Linked DNA regions of Homo sapiens: region 2 is linked to region 1. Evidence: promoter capture Hi-C in 16 types of primary human blood cells and fetal thymus (Javierre and others, 2016). All regions are on one chromosome and are shown on one strand. Each heading gives the region's core, a stretch centred on a gene start or on the middle of the fragment in contact. The rest is flanking DNA. Distances are from core to core; before and after follow the strand shown. Region 1 holds the start of LSM10 (LSM10, U7 small nuclear RNA associated). Region 2 overlaps THRAP3 (thyroid hormone receptor associated protein 3).

Region 1 (2,700 bases), core at 104-2,603:
GAGGTGAGGCCCAGAGATAAAGTCATTTTGAACATGTTCCCAGGTGATGCTGATGCTGCTGGTCAGGGGCCCACACTCTGGGAACTATTGGTCTACACCATGCAGCTGTTATGTAAGTAGAAATTAAGGTAATGAGGCCGGGTGCAAGGGCTCACGCCTGTAATCCCAGGATTTTGGGAGGCCAAGGCGAGTGGATCACCTGAGGTCAGGAGTTCAAGACCCGCCTGGCCAACATGGTGAAACCCAGTATCTACCAAAAATACAAAAATTACCTGGGCATGGGCGCACCTGTAATCTCAGCTACTTGGGAGGCTGAAGCAGGAGAATCGCTTGAACCCAGGAGGCAGAGGTTACAGTGAGCCAAGATTGTGCCACTGCACACCAGCCTGGGTGACACAGCGAGACTCTCAGAAAAAAAAAAAGAAAATAAATCTGGATAATGAATTGGGGAAAAAAACCCCCAACCGGTATTATATAAGGTACATAGGTTTTGAAGGTAGAGAAACCTAGGTTGGAATCCCCACTCCACCCCTAATTATGAAAACCTAGAAAAGTTAATGTCTCTGAACCTGTTTCCACATTTATTAAACTACAGGAGAAACAAAGCTACCAGAATCACACTCCACTAAAGGTACTCTCCTTTGATTTCAACATGCCCTGATAATGTATTAGTGCACTATGTCTTACCTATCCCTTATTTTCAGACCTGAGTTAAAGGGGGTGGAACGCTCTCTCTTTACGACCTCACTCAGCATCCCGTCCAGGGCTGTGCATTGTGGCACTGAGCGTGGCAAGCCAGACTAGGCCAGTGACGAGGGGGCCTGGGAGCTAGGTCCCTGGGCATGGCCTAACGACCAGCCACCCGGCTGCAGCCTGATGAATCTGCGATCAAGCAAAGGTATGGGGCTGCTGCTGCGACTGCAAAGAGCAGTCACCGGACCTCGAGTCAGGCCCGGGTTCTAGAACAGGCTTTGCCACCTCCTAGGAGGGCGATCACTTAGCAAACCACTTAGCTTCTCCAAGCTAGCTAAGCTACCGGTAAAACGGGATGAGCACCGCTTACTCAGAGCAGCGGGAGCGGGTCTGGGGAAAGGAGCTATACTCGGTAAATGGGGAAGAAAACGCTTCCTGGGCTCCGGCACCTCCTTCCGGAGGTCCTGGCATCCCCCGCATTCCGCCCCGGGGCTCCCTGCACCGCCGACCCGGACCCACCACGCGACATTCCTTCCGCTTTCCCCGTCTGGGTCGCCGCCGAAGCTAGCGGGCGCCTGGACTGGCTGCCTCCCGCCGGCTGCAGCAGGACGGAGAAACCATGCCGGCGACCGGGCCGCTCTGTCCTCCGGGCGCAGAGTGCGTCAGTGCTCTGCAAGTCACCGCGTCACGGAGAAACTACAATCCCCAGAATGCTTCGCGGCGCGGGGCTCGTGCTCCGCAAATCCCGGCCTGCGTCATTGGAGTCTCTTTCACTAGAGTCGTTCATTCATTCCGCACGCATTCATTGAACCGGCGACCTGGGCCAGGCTCCTTCCCAGGCTCCGGCATGGAGCAGTGACCAAGATCAAGTGGCTCCCTGAGCTGATGGCGCTGCAGGGGAGAGAGTCTTAAGAAAACAAAGAAGAAAAATAGGGAAAAATTTCTTCAGAAGATTAAAGGTGTGATGTGATGGTGACAAGGTGGTCTTTTATTGGATTGTCAGGGGTGCCCTGAGAAGGTGACATTTGAGTTGAGATTAGTGACATGAAGCCAAGCTTGTGAAAACTATGGGAGGAGCATTGCAATTAGCGGGAACAGTTTGTTAAGTAAAATTTATAGGAGGCAGGGCCGGGTGCAGAGGCCCACACCTGTAATCCCAGCACTTTGGAGGACAAGGCGGAAGGATCACTGGAGCCCAGGAGTTCGAGACCAGTCTGGGCAACAATGGGGAGACCCTGTCTCTACAAAAAATAGAAAAAATTAGCCCACCGTGGTGGCGTACACCTCTGGTCCCACCTACTTGGGAGGCTGAGGCAGGAGAATTGCTTGAATCCAGGAAGTGGAGGCTGCAGTGAGCTCAGAAAGTAACACTTCATTCCAGCCTGGGCAACAGAGCAAGACTCCGTCTCAAAAAAAAAAAAAAATTGGAGGCCATTGGTTTGAACAGGGCTCCTGCACCAAGCCCAACAGAACCAAAATGGAGTCACTCATGCTAAAGTTCTACATCACCAAGTGGAAACTAAGTTGTTTATCTGATATTCCGATAAATCAGAAGAGTGAGAGATAGCTAGATCTCCAAACCATCCTGTTTTAGCTGGCAGGATAAGGAAGTCCCCTCTGCTTTAGCCTTCAAAGTTACAAGGAAAGTAACTTTGAAACAACCAATCTTTTTGTTTTCTGTTTCTGCTTTCCTCAGCCCTTTTCTGGCTGTAAAACCAATCTCCTCTGCTCAGCTCATTTGAACACTCATTCCATTTTATAGAATGAAGTGTTGCCCGATTCTAGAGTTGCAAATAAAAGTCAGATTTAACAAATTTGGCAAAAAAAAGTCAAATCACCAATTAAAAGTTAAATTTTTTCTTTTCACAGTTCATGCAAAGAACCTGGGGGAAATGACCTTGACAATTTAGGAACACAGGAAAGGCCAGGGAAGCTGGGGAGAGTGGTATAACAAGAGGCCAGAGAGGAAGCAGGAACCAGAGCATATAGGGCTTTGTGAGCCAAGGT
Region 2 (2,700 bases), core at 49-2,548, 120 kb before region 1:
GAGACGGAGTTTTGCTCTTGTCGTCCAGGCTGGAGTGCAATGGCGCGATCTTGGCTCGCTGTAACCTCTGCCTCCTGGGTTCGAGAGATTCTCCTGTCTCAGCTTCCTGAGTAGCTGGGATTACAGGCACCCGCCACTACTTTTAGTAGAGATGGGGTTTCACCATGTTGGCCACGCTGGTCTTGAACTCCTGATCTCAGGTGATCAGCCCACCTCAGCCTCCCAAAGTGCTGGGATTACAGGCGTGAGCCACCGCCCCCAGCTGACTCTTTTGTAATAAAGAGCTGGAACAAATTGATGGTTCTTTATGACTAGATGTGCCACATACTCTGTAACTAAGTTAAATTGCATGCGGTTTCTTCTCTTGGAACTAGGAAACCTGTCTCACATCTCCTCATTACTTTTATTAACAGCTGACTTTAGTCTCAAAGCTTCTTTGCTTACTGAGAAAAGACTGCATGCACCAAAATTAATAAGCACCCTCATTCTTGGTCATCTCTTACAGTATTACCCAGTTAGGGTTACATGTCAGGTTTTCCATTTGCTGCTGTGGCTTGGTCTGTTTGGGATTTGTACTACTAAGAAATTCCTTTTGATGAAAGAGCAGAGTGGTTTTTAAAAATCAGTCATTTCATCTTTTTTTTTTTTTTAATGTTACTTTCTGTTTTTAAAGTTTATTTTATTTAAACAGTTGTTTTTTTTGTAGAGGTGGGGGAATCTTCCTATGTTGCTTAGGCTGGTCTCAAAATCCTGGCCTCAGGCCATTCCCACCTTAGCCTCTGGAGTAGCTAGGACTACAGGCCCTTACCACTACATCCAGCTAATTTTAAAAGTTTTTACTTTGTAGGCCAGGCACGGTGGCTCACGCCTGTAATCCCAGCACTTTGGGAGGCCGAGCCGGGCAGATTACCTGAGGTCGGGAGTTCGAGACCAGCCTTACCAACAAGGAGAAACCCTGTCTCTACTAAAAATACAAAAAAATTAGCCGGGCATGGTGGCCCATGCTTGTAATCCCAGCTACTTGGGAGGCTGAGGCAGGAGAATTGCTTGAACCCGGGAGGCGGAGGTTGTGGTGAGCTGAGATTAAGCCATTGCACTCTAGCCTGGGCAACAAAAGCAAAACTCCTATCTCAAGAAAAAAAAAATTTTTTTTTTAACTTTGTAGACACGGGATATTGCTATGTTGCCCAGGCTAGTCTTGAACACCTGGACTTAAGCAGTCCTCCTCCTACCTTGGCCTCCCAGTGCACTGGGATTACAGGCGTGAGCCACCGTGCTCAGCCACTTTCTCTCTTTTTTTTTTTTTTGGAGATAGGGTATTGCTCTTTCCTCCAGAGCTGCAGTGCAGAGGTGTGATCACAGCTCACTGTAACTTTGCACTCCCTCCTGTCTTAGCCTCTCAAATAGCTAGGACTACAGGAACGCACCACTGTGACTGGCTAATTAAAAAAAAATTTTTTTTTTTTTTTTGTAGATATGGGGTCTTCTCAAGTTGCCCAGATTAAAAGAAATGTGTTTCTAAAATGTCCAAAGAGGTTCACATTTGCAAAGGAACTCACTCATTTGTTCTAATGCATTTTCTTACATTAGGTGTAATTGAAAAGTGATCCTCTCTTCAGAGATGTCAAAAACAAACAAATCCAAGTCTGGATCTCGCTCTTCTCGCTCAAGATCTGCATCAAGATCTCGTTCTCGTTCATTTTCGAAGTCTCGGTCCCGAAGCCGATCTCTCTCTCGTTCAAGGAAGCGCAGGCTGAGGTAAGGGGGTGTGACTTTGTATATTGAGATAATCATTGCATCAGTCGATGTGGATGTTTGAAGATCTTTTGTTAGACTTTTCCTGTGAGTGTCAAATGGACTGGGGGGTTGGCTTGAGGTGCAGGGTTGGGCTATAAGATATTCCAGGTCTCTTTAAACTACAAATCCAGATCAGCTTTGACTGCCATGCTGATTGCCTGATTCCTTTCCTCTGCCAGCACATAGTATTTCCCACCCACTTTGGAAGAAAGAACATTTTATTTTTATTTGAGCTGCTTGCTTCAAATCTCTATAGCTGATTATTTTTCACCAAATTATTTTTGAAGGCTTGAACCAAAGTTTATGTGCATCACTGCAAAGAAAGGATAGCTAAGAGGATTAATAATATGAACAACATGGCAAGGAAAAGAAGCTTCAACTCACTAAAATAAACTTACAGAAACTTATCAGGAGTAATTTGTATACAATGTGCCAATTACTAACAAGCTGCATCTGTTTAGTAAATGTATCTTAAAACTTTTTAAAAATCGCTATTGAAAACATCACTTTATCTTACTGAATATGAGCACAGTTCTTTTGAATTTATTGCCAGTATTTCCTAATTCAGTCAGTTTTCACACCTTCAGGTGGATTTCCCTATTTTAATTATGTCTTGGAATAGGATGCCAAACCTCCAGCGTCTTTCCTCTCTTGGTGTGTTGTGAGTTGGATTTTTCATTCTTTAAAAGTGTTTAAACTTTCTTTTGTGGATAGATAAGAAGCTTTCAGTAAATAACAAGTTTCTATATGTGAGTTTGGGAAATATTGGTGTATTTAAATTGGTGTGCTGAAGAGGAATCTTTGTACATTTTCATTCTTTTTCCCACAAGTACATTAGCAAGGAGATGATTTGTCATGTTTGACACTTGGAACCCCTGCTGTTTATTTCAGATGAGTATCTAG

Evidence for each region. The method cuts DNA at HindIII sites, captures the fragments that hold promoters and counts their contacts. A CHiCAGO score of 5 or more calls a contact.
Region 2: a fragment that was not itself captured here is called in contact with the fragment with the promoter of LSM10 in region 1 in 2 of 17 cell types (neutrophils and naive B cells); the score reaches 5.8 in neutrophils.

Annotation. Positions count from the first base shown.
Region 1 is chr1:36,396,555-36,399,254 of GRCh38, forward strand. LSM10 (LSM10, U7 small nuclear RNA associated) reads right to left here and starts at 1,354. Exons shown (of 2, transcript NM_032881.3): 1 at 1,213-1,354. RefSeq lists enhancers at 499-1,211, 1,212-1,923. The HindIII fragment of the contact is 5,014 bases long and covers 1-1,746 here.
Region 2 is chr1:36,280,943-36,283,642 of GRCh38, forward strand. THRAP3 (thyroid hormone receptor associated protein 3) reads left to right here. Exons shown (of 12, transcript NM_005119.4): 3 at 1,591-1,758. The coding sequence starts at 1,622. Among named protein-coding and RNA genes, the nearest start is that of SH3D21, 24 kb to the right of the region's middle. The HindIII fragment of the contact is 1,739 bases long and covers 430-2,168 here.